Linked DNA regions of Homo sapiens: regions 1 and 3 are each linked to region 2. The links are contacts of gene promoters, found by promoter capture Hi-C in human tissues and cell types (Jung and others, 2019). All regions are on one chromosome and are shown on one strand. The core of a region is centred on a gene start or on the middle of the fragment in contact, and the rest is flanking DNA. Distances in the headings are between cores, read along the strand shown. Region 1 holds the start of IGSF23 (immunoglobulin superfamily member 23). Region 2 holds the start of BCAM (basal cell adhesion molecule (Lutheran blood group)). Region 3 overlaps IGSF23 (immunoglobulin superfamily member 23).

Region 1 (3,526 bases), core at 779-3,278, 200 kb before region 2:
TACTAAAAATATGAAAAAATTAGCTGGGCATGGTGGCACATGCCTGTAATCCCAGCTAATCCGGAGGCTGAGGCATGAGAATCTCTTAAACCCCAGAGGTGGAAGTTGCAGCGAGCAGAGATCACACCACTGCACTCCAGCTTGAGCAACACAGCAAGACTCTGTCTTTAAATAAATAAATAAAAATTTAAAAACAGAAAAAAGAAAAATTGCTTTATTCCCCAGAGTTCCAATAAAATCCGTAAGAGATTGCTTCTCCTTGGCCTGTTCTGAGTGCCACGCCCAGGTCTCCAAAAATCACTGTTGTCAGGGGATGAAGTGCTCTGATTGGCCAGTCCTGGGCCCCTCACCTCCCTGGAGCCATGAGGAGGCTGGTTTCCAAAAGAGAACTCCAGGTGCTGTTACCTGGATACAAGAGAGTACTGGCTGGGTAGAAACCCCAGAAACCTTACAACATAATGGTTATTAACTGCATCGTAAATATTTACTTTTTCCTACAGTGGTCTCCTGACCTAGCTAATCACTCCAGCAGAGGCCTTCAGACCAACTATAAAAAAGGCACTTTAGCAAATGCTAATAAAGAAATAACTGTGTCACCTGATAATGACTATTATTAGAGACTTATGGGTGAACCTTAGCCCCTGGGTGGAACCTGAACCTCTCTGGGAGGGAAAAGCATGAGCTTCTAAGTCAGAAAGATCTGAGTTCAAGTCTGAACACTCCCATTTCACTCACTTGCTCTTCATTCATTTATTCACTAAAAAGAAAACATGTAGGCTGGCTAGGTGGTTCATGCCTGTAATCCCAGCACTCTGGGAGGCTGAGGCAGGAGGATCACTTGAGCCCAGAAGTTTGAGACCAGCCTGGGTAATATAGTGAAACTCTATTTCTACAAAAAGAAAAAAAATTTAATTGGCTGGGAATGGTAGTGTGAGACTGTAGTCCCAGCTACTCAGGAGACTGAGGCAGGATTATTGCTTGAATCCAAAAGGTTGAAGCTGCAGTGAGCTATGACCGTGCCACTGCACTCCAGCCTGGCTGACAGAGTGAGACCCCGTCTCAAAAACAAAAACATGTATTGAGCACCTGTTATATGCAAGGCACTGTTCTAGTCACTAGGGACATAGCCACAAGCCAGACAACATCCCTGCCCTCCTGGATCTGATATTCAAGTCGGAGAGGTGGGACTAAGGAGGGAGAGACAGATAATACAAGTGGACAAATAAATAAATCATCTAAAATAGCGGTAAATGATGTAAAGAAAACAAAACAGTGTGGCTTGCTAGCAAAGAGGTGGGGAACTGAGTTGCAGCAGGCATTAAGAAAGGCCTTTTTGATAGAGTGATGTGTGTGAATTAAGCCAAAATAATAAGATACAGTCAGCTTTGAGATTACATGAGTAAGGTTCTAAGGAGAGGGAACGGCTCATGCAAAGCCCCTGAGCTGGTGCCTCCAAAAACTGGCAGAAAGCCCCTGTGAACGGTTGTGTGATGGTAGGTGAGTTACTTAGCCCCTGTGCACCACGAGAAAATGGGGATGCTCATATCTACCCCTCGAGGTTGCTATGAGGATTCAAATTAGGCAACCCTGTTACAAGGTTAATGCTGTGTCCGGCATATAGTAGGTGTTCAATAAACACCAGCTATTAGTTTGAGTAATATAATTATTAATTTGAGGAGGAAAGAATGGACCTGGGGAGTGAGAAGGGTGAGGAAAAAGTAGCTAGTGTAGCTTATCCTTCTAGAATCTAAAATTCAGGATATAGTCTGAGCAAGCTCCTGATAACGGGATTCTAAACATGCCTCCAGGACATCCTAGACACCAAATTATAATTAGCATTGACTTCATAGTGACTGCCATTCGTTGAGCGCCTACTACGTGACCAGGCACTACTCCAAGCACCTTGTGTCCACGGCCCTGTCTGACTCTGGGGCAGGCACTATTATTAACGCCTCCATTTTACAGAGGAGAAAAGCTGTGGTTCAGAGTCCAAAGCCCCGTCACCTCCTACCAGGTTGACCTTTGGCCATTCCTTGCCTTTGATGTGAGTGATAGGAGCGGGCGATTCTGCTTCTCCCTCCATCTCCCGGCGGGGATTGTACGGTGAGAGAATGAGAGCAAAACCTCAGAGCCCCCTTCCCAGGAACCCTGTCCCAGCCTGGTCCCCACCCACCACCACCACTGACCCGATGCTAGAGAAGGATGCGGCTGGAGGTGACTTCCCAGCCAACTTGGTGTAAGTCATGTGGGGAAGTGGCCAGGGTAGGGCATGGTCATCGTGAGCAGGGTCCTGCAGGGTGAGGCCGGGGCTGCAGACGCGACTGTACAGGTCTATGAAGACCCCATGTGTGATGAGGAGACCTTCTCTGCACAGTCCCTGGACAGAACACGAGATGAGGGGTCCTCTGGACGTCAGCTCCAGCCACACCCCTACCTGGAGGAAGCTGCTTTTAACAGGTGCGTTGGAGACAGCGGCTTCACCACGGGCCAGGGACAAGGAGGAGAGTGTCTCCTTACGAGTCCAAGTCACCCCCACTCAGAGCTTTGACCCTGTCAGTTTGAGGCCCATGCAGCTCAGGCACCCAACTCATGAGAACTCTTGAAGGCCACTCCGCCACAAGAGATGACCCTATTGGCTTCTTTTAGGAAGAAGGGAAGTGAGGCGCAAAGAGGAGAACAGGTCACCTACCCAAGATCACAGGGCTGGCAAGGGGCAGGATCAGAATTTGGGACCCCAGCCCAGCCCCCTTCCACCAGAATGCCCTGTCTCACCCCTGCAATCCGCAACTTAGTAATAATACATATAAATAATAACAATCATAAAATAATAACAGCCGTAATAGAAGGTCACTGTAACTGAATAGATCTATATACCAGCCTGTTTGGGGTTTTTGTTTTTTTGTTTTGTTTTGTTTTGAGACAAGGTCTTGCTCTGTTGTCCAGGCTACAGTGCAGTGGCCCGATAATGACTCATTGCAGCTTCAACCTGCTGGGCTGAAGCTGTTCTCCTGCCTCAGCGTCCTGCGTAGCTGGGACCATAGGTATGCGCCACCAAACCCAGCTAATTTTTTATTTTTAGTAGAGATGAGGTCTTACTATGTTGCCCAGGCTAGTCTCGAACTCCTGGGCTCAAGCGATCCTCCTGCCTCGGCCTCCCCAAGTGCCAGGATTACAGGCGTGAGCCACTGCGCCCAGCCTGTCAGCCCGTTCTAAGTGCTTTCCTATAGTAACATTTACCTCTTATCACAACTCTTTGAGATCAGAGCTGTACGATCCCTATTTCACAGAAGGGGAAACTGAGGTTCAGAGAGGTCATGTGCCCTCTCCAGGTCACACACTTGGAAGTGGCAGACTGAAGATTTGAAGCCAGATGGGCTGGCTTCCCAGACCACACTTTCCAGAGACCACACACATCTGCCTCTCAGATAGTGAATGAATTGCTTCCTTATCCAGGTCTTAAAAGTTCACTTCTGAGTTGGGCGCGGTGACTCACACCTGTAATCCCAGCACTTTGGGAGGCCGAGGC
Region 2 (3,684 bases), core at 463-2,962:
CCTGCCCTCACAGGCTCACAGTCCACTGAGGGAGACAGACCTATCCCCAGCCAGGGACCCCCAGAGTGTGCCGGGCTCAGGTGGGGGAGCCCAGAGGGGGAACCTGACCCAGCCAGGGAAGGCAGAGGGGACTTCCTGGAGGAGGGGATGGTACAGTTAATCCTAAAAGGTCTTTCCCAATGTAACAGTTGCTCTGTAGGATGGATGCAGTGGCTCATGCCTGTAATCCCAGCACTTTGGAAGGCAGGAGGATCACTTGAGCCCAAGAGTTGGAGACCAGCCTGGGCAACATAGTAATACCCTGTTTCTATTACCAAAAAAATACAAAAATTAGCTGGACATGGTAACACAAGCCTATAGTCCCAGCTACTTGGGAGGCTGAAGTGGAAGGATTGCTTGAGCCCAGGCGGTTGAGGTTTGAATGAGCTATGATTGCGCCCACTGCATTCCCGGCTGGGCAACAGAGCGAGACCCTGTCAAAAACAAAACAAACAAACAAAAAAAACGTTGGTCTCCTGTATGACCAATGGATAAAGTAACCTTGACCAGTCTAATAACTCCCAGGCTGACCTGTAATCCAAGCCTTCTCTGTATGTCTGAGCAGGCAAAGCCCAGCTCCAGGGCTACCTCAACCCCCAGGCTGATCAGAAGCTTGGGTAACCTCTCCCAGTGTGGCCAGCGACCCCCCACCCTCCCACGTTCTGACCACTGTCCTGGGCAACTAGTGACATCTAGTGGGGGATTTTGTCCCAGTCTGACCTGGCCTGTAGGGGCCTTGGGCAGTCGGACCTGTGACCCACGCTTCCTAGCAGTGGCTGGACTCCTCCCCCTTCCCGCAGGTGCCCTGGCCTCTTCCCCTGCCCTCCTCACCTGCTCTGGCCAGTCTGACTCCTCCCTTCCCCACAAGGTTGGGAGGGAATGAAGGAGAGAGCGGGAAGGAGGAAGGGAGGGTGGCATTCCTGGGATTCCCTGGATAGGGGGAAGAGTGGGAGGGCCTTCCATGGGTGAGCAAGCAGAGAGGGCACCCCGTACCCCACCCCCAGCCCCATCATCGAAGCGGCCTAGGAGGACCTGGATTTGAAGACCATTGAAAATAAGAGATTAAACCGGTTGATTCCAGGCTACTGGTCAGACGAGGAAAGCAGCCCAGAGCACTGACCACAGGGGAAAACATCTCCGGGCATACTGGGAGCAGCTGCTGGGGGCCACTGGTCAGGCTGCGGGGGTCACTGGTTGGACTGGGAGAGGCCAGTGCAGGCCACTCGGACGGCACGCTTGGGGCCATTAGTTACACTGGGAGAGGCCATCGCAGGCCACAGGTTGCAGTGGGGTCCTCTGGTTAAAATCGACGATGCCAGCCCAGGCTGCTGGTCACAGTGGGGACGAGTCCCCAAGGCCCCTGGTCAGAATAACGAGGAGAAGGTCCGCGATTGCCTGGTGAGATCCCAGCTCGGGTCACTGGCTACGCTGGTCGATCAGGCCCCCCGCTGCAGGCGCTGGTCAGTAAGCCCGGACAGCTCTAGGCTTGGGGGCGGACGAGCCCCGAGCCTGGCCCCGTGCACTGGGAGGTCCGCTCCGGGCAGTGGGAGGTCCTGGCCCCGCGCCCGGGCATCGGGGGACGAGGGGGGCCTGGAGGGCGGGGCGGGGCGGGGCTGCCGGGGGCGGGGCCTCTGGCTCCCAGCCCCGCAGCGGCCGAGCTGCAGCCCGGGCTCAGTCTCCGCCGCCGCCGTGAACATGGAGCCCCCGGACGCACCGGCCCAGGCGCGCGGGGCCCCGCGGCTGCTGTTGCTCGCAGTCCTGCTGGCGGCGCACCCAGGTATGGCTCGGGCTGAGGGCAAGGTGGGACTGGGGAGAGGCCCCTGGGGACCCCGGGAAAGCGAGGAGAAAGGGCTTTACCCTGACCCCAGGAAGCAAAATGTGGGGACCCCAAGGAGGAGGGATATGGGAGTGTTGGAAGGTACGCCTTCCAGTGAGAGAGATCTGGGGACAGCCAGGCAGGAGAGCTGGGGATACCCAGGCGGTGGATCAGAGACAACCAGAGAAGTCAGCCCCCTTCCCACTCAGCACCCTGGAATCTGGGTCCCACCTGCCTCCTCCCTCAGACCCTGGAATCTGGGCCCCCAGCCCCTCTTTCCTCAGACCCAGGAGTCCAGGCCTCCAGTGGCTAGAATAGCTTCCCCCAGGGCACAGAGGATCAAAACCCCAGGGCTCTCTCCCTCAAAGGTCCTCAAGTTTTGAGAGGTCCAGGGACCCCTTAGAGAAGCGAGGACCATGTGTCCCCACACCAGCGATCCACATGTATTTAGGAGTTTCCAGAGTCCAGTATAAAGAACCCGCCTCCCTCAGGAAAGGGCTGGAGCACCAGCCCCGGGCAGTGACAGTGGAACAAAGTGTTTCCAAGTGACAGGCCCCCTTCCTGGGGCCTCAGCTACATTTACACACCTGCATGAGGATAGAAGGAGAGGAGGCCGGGGGCTGGGGGGTGGGGGTGGGGGTGCTGGGGACAGAGGGACAGAGAGATGAGAGAGATTGGGGAAGAGAGAGGAACTCTCTGCCTCCACTTGTCTGCAGATCAGACCCAGCCTTAGGCACCAGCCTGGACCCCGTCACCCCTCCCTGGGGACAGGCTGGGGCCAGAGGTGAGCGCTTGGGAATCCAGGCCCCTGGCACACTCATGGTCAACAGTGGGTCCCCAGGGGTAGGGCTGGGCCAGATTGAGCAGAGAAGGGAAGGGAGTTTCTAAGAAGCACTGAGAGCTGATGCCAGGATGCCAGCCCAGAGGGTGAGGGAGGGTGGTGGTTTTTCTACAATAACTACTCCACCAGGCCCCAGCCTCCTCTTCCCTCTGATCCCAGGAGTCCAGGTGCCCAGCTTCCCAAGATCCTGGGCCTCAACCTTATCCTTTTGCAAGATGACTCGACTTATCCCGTTTGCTGTTGTATCAAACTGAGGGGGGCCAAGAGGCGGCTGGGGGCTCTGGCTCCAGGCCGGGCAGGTCTCAGCCAGCCTGTCCCTCCCACATTCCTGAAACCTGCCCAGCCCTGTCCCCCCTCACCGCCCCCACACATCCATCCCGCCTAAGCTCCGGGCCCAGCCGCAGCCCACACCCCAGCCCCTCACTCATGGGAGAGCGGAAGAGACCCAGGGACTGAGTGGTGCAGGTGCAGAGAGAGGCAGAGACAGGGACAGAGATGGAGACCCAAGAGGAGAGACACACGCAAAGGTGGAGACCAGGATGGAGAGAAACATTTATCCATCATCACAGAGGTGGCCCTGCCCAGGGTGCTGGAGGCAAATGGCTGAGCCAGGCCTGGCCCTGCCCTGGGGGGTGGCGTGTGCTCTGTTGGGATAAGCAAAGGCTGGTGCAGTATTACCCCAGGAGTGTTCAGCGGAGGCCACAGGGCCCTGTGCAGCCCAGAGGAGGAGCCCTGAGCTCTGCAAGTGCAGGGAGAGATGGATTTGAGACCCAGAGATGCAGGGAGAAGGGATGGAGGGCGAAAGGATCTCAGGGAGGAGGGGCTGGGGCCTAGACTCCTGGGTCTGAGGGAGGAGGGGCTGGGGCCTGGACTCCTGGGTCTGAGGGAGGAGGGGCTGGGGCCTAGACTCCTGGGTCTGAGGGAGGAGGGGCTGGGGCCTAGACTCCTGAGTCTGAGGGAGGAGGGGACAGGGGCCCAGATTCCTGGG
Region 3 (3,325 bases), core at 429-2,928, 170 kb before region 2:
GACAACTGGCCTCTCCTTCATGTTGTCTCTCATCCTCCAGCAGGGTGACCCAAGCTTGTTCACATGGCAGAGGCAGGATTCCAAGAGTAACAGCAGAAACTTCAAGGCCCCTTAAGTCTCAAGCTCAAAATGGACATGCCATCACTTCTGCCACAGAAAGGACTTCATTGGCCAAAGTTACATGACTGGCCAAATTCAAGGGATGGGGAAGTTGACTCCACCTCTTGCTAAGAAGGGAAAAATCTGTGGCCATTTTTGCAATCTACGAAGAAATGTGGAAGTACACACAGCTCTCTCTGCCAGCCTCCCCCACACACACACTTCACCCCCACCCCAAGCCCTTACAATTCCTTTCCTCCTGCATGTGGAATTTACAGTTCTCTGTCTCTCTCTGCAGATGGGTGCTTTGTACCTCTCTATCCACGTGGAAAAAAAAACCCATCCCATAGCTTCCAAGTCTACAACATCTCTGTTCAAGGGAACAACCCAACGTAACCAGACTCCCTTTGCCCTGTTTCTGAAACACCTGAAGAAAACATCTGATGGGTTGACTCGGTGCCATCCTTGGTCCCATCGCCGTGACACGTTGTGCAAGCAAAGCATCAGAGGCTCATCCCTGTCTGTGGGAGCTCAGTGCTCAGAAAACAGGGGGGAGGTTTTACCTTGGAAATTGGCCAGACCCCAAAATATGTCTTTTACACATGCTGCTTTTTTTTTCTCTTTTTCAAAAAGAACCAAAAAATAAATTAAAACACCACCACTTCTGAATGGTTTCTCATGAAGCCTCTCTTCCTGAGAGTGGGAGAGGCATGTTTGCAAATAAGATCAACCTTTGAGCTTTGCACTGTTCAAGTTTAATACCTCTCCATAGGAGGATCCTGACAGATAGCAGGCACAGGGCACACAAGTATGGCTGAAACTCCTCTGGGGGATATATCTCACATTTGAGGAAAATTCGGTGCTTCTGTGACCAACACAGAACCACCTAACATGGCATTCTGCTTAGCAATAATAGTAGCAGAACTGAGTCCAAGTCTTGTCTGTTGAGGGCTCTCCATGTGCCAGCCACTGACTATTTACCTTACATGATTAATGTGTCATAGCAGGCCAGGCGCAGTGGCTCACACCTGTAATCCCACCACTTTGGGAGGCCAAGGCAGGTGGCTCACCTGAGGTCAGGAGTTCAAGACCAGCCTGGCCAACATAGTGAAACCCCATCTCTACTAAAAATACAAAAATTGGCCGGATGTGGGGGCACATGCCTATAATCCCAGCTACCGGGGAGGCTCAGGCAGGAGAACCACTTGAACCCAGGAGGCAGAGGTTTCAGTGAGCCGAGATCATGGCCACTGTGCTCCAGCCTGGGTGAGGGAGTGACAGTATCTCAAAAATAAAATAAAATAAGTAAGAGATGTTAGCCAGGCACGGTGACTCACGCCTGTAATCCCAGCATTTTGGGAGGCCAAGGCGGGCAGATCACCTGAGGTCAGGAATTCAAGACCAGCATGGCAACATGGTGAAACCCTGTCCCTTGTTATCACACGAATGGGGATGTGGCTTGTGTGCTGCCTAATCTTGCCTAGAACTAGGTGTACCTGCGTTCTTTTGCTTATGGCTTTACCCTTGGTTACCCTAATTCCCTATTCTCCTGCCTCAAGAGGTGACCACAGCAGCCCTGGGCCTGCCCTCCTAGGGCTTATAGTACAGTGAGGGAGACAGACCTGTTCCCAGTGATGACCCAGAGTCATCACTCTCCTCTGGGAGGCCAGGGGGGAGTCTTAATGGAGACTGGAGGATCCAGGAGGGCTTCCTGGTGAGGGAGGGGTCAGCTGTACTAGAGAACAACATTAAGATCATTAATAACAAGAGCAGCCAGATGGCCGGGCACGGTGGCTCACGCCTGTAATCCCAGCACTTTGGGAGGTGAGGCAGGCAGATCACGAGGTCAGGAGATCAAGACCATCCTGGCTAATACAGTGAAACCCTGTCTCTACTAAAAATACAAAAAATTAGCTGGCGTGGTGGCAGGAGCCTGTAGTCCCAGCTACTCGGGAGGCTGAGGCAGAAGAATGGCGTGAACCCGGGAGGTGGAGCTTGCAGTGAGCCAAGATCGTTACCACTGCACTGCAGCCTGGGCAACAGAGCGAGACTCCGTCTCAAAAAAAAAAATAAATAAATAAAAGAGCAGCCAGGTCTTCTGGTTGGAGTTGGTGTTTAAGAAAAATAAAATTTAAAAATTAAAATTTTTTTGGCCGGGCACAGTGGCTCACAGCTGTAATCCTAGCACTTTGGGAGGCCGAGGCAGATGGATTGACTGAGCTGAGCTCAGGAGTTCAAGACCAGCCTGGCCAACATGGCGAAACCTTGTCTGCTAAAAATGCAAAAAAAATTAGCCAGGCGTGGTGGTGCGGGCCTGTAATCCCAGCTACTTGGGAGGCTGAAGCATGAGAATCGCTTGAACCCGGGAGGCAGAGGTTGCAGTGAACCAAGATTGTGCCACTGTACTTCAGCCTGGGCAGCAGAGCAAGACTCTGCCAAAAATAAAAAAATTTTAAAAATTGTTTAAAGAGCAGCCACGTCTCCATAGTGGTAATTGTCAGGCATCGCACCAAAGAGCTTTAATGCGTTCTTCTCAAACAGTCCTCCCACTTCAGCCTGCCAAAGTGCTGAGATTTCAGGTTTGAGCCACTGTGCCATGCTATGCCCATTTTTCAGATAAAGAATCATAAGCCCCAGGAGACATCAATAATAATTGCTGCCATTTGTTGAGCAGTTAAATAAATAACTTTTTAGACCATATATTTCTTTTTTTTTTTTTTTTTTTTTTGAGACAGAGTCTCACTCTGTTGCCCAGACTGGAATGCAGTGGCATGACGTTGACTCACTGTAACCTCCACCTCAAGTGATTCAGCCTCCCAAGTAGCTGGGATTACAGGTGTGCACGACTACCACCCAGCTAATTTTTGTGTTTTTAGTACAGATGGGGTTTCACCATGTTGGCCAGGCTGGTCTTGAACTCCTGACCTCAAAAGTGTGGGGGAAAGAAAGAGAGATCAGACTGTTACTGTGTCTATGTAGAAAAAGGAAGACATAAGAAACTCCATTTTGATCTGTACTAAGAAAAATTCTTCTGCCTTGAGATGCTGTTAATCTGTAACCCTAGCCCCAACCCTGTGCTCGCAGAAACGTGTGCTGTATTGACTCAAGGTTTAATGGATTTAGGGCTGTGCAGGATGTGCTTTGGTAAAAATGTGTTTGCAGGCAGTATGCTTGGTAAAAGTCATTGCCATTCTCCAGTCTCAAGTAACCAGGGACACCATACACT

The links. The method cuts DNA at HindIII sites, captures the fragments that hold promoters and counts their contacts. A contact is called where the count stands out against the background at its distance.
Region 1: a contact is called between the fragment with the promoter of IGSF23 here and the fragment with the promoter of BCAM in region 2, in 4 of the 25 tissues and cell types used here (IMR-90 fibroblasts, adrenal gland, liver and 1 more).
Region 3: a contact is called between a fragment that was not itself captured here and the fragment with the promoter of BCAM in region 2, in 1 of the 25 tissues and cell types used here (lymphoblastoid cells).

Annotation. Positions count from the first base shown.
Region 1 is chr19:44,611,535-44,615,060 of GRCh38, forward strand. It overlaps IGSF23 (immunoglobulin superfamily member 23), which reads left to right and starts at 2,029. Exons shown (of 5, transcript NM_001205280.2): 1 at 2,029-2,236. The coding sequence starts at 2,112. RefSeq lists an enhancer at 3,441-3,526. The HindIII fragment of the contact is 19,410 bases long and covers 1-3,526 here.
Region 2 is chr19:44,807,391-44,811,074 of GRCh38, forward strand. It overlaps BCAM (basal cell adhesion molecule (Lutheran blood group)), which reads left to right and starts at 1,713. Exons shown (of 15, transcript NM_005581.5): 1 at 1,713-1,816. The coding sequence starts at 1,735. The HindIII fragment of the contact is 22,699 bases long and covers 1-3,684 here.
Region 3 is chr19:44,636,022-44,639,346 of GRCh38, forward strand. It overlaps IGSF23 (immunoglobulin superfamily member 23), which reads left to right. Exons shown (of 5, transcript NM_001205280.2): 5 at 398-760. Among named protein-coding and RNA genes, the nearest start is that of PVR, 6.2 kb to the right of the region's middle. RefSeq lists an enhancer at 728-1,022. The HindIII fragment of the contact is 6,031 bases long and covers 1-3,325 here.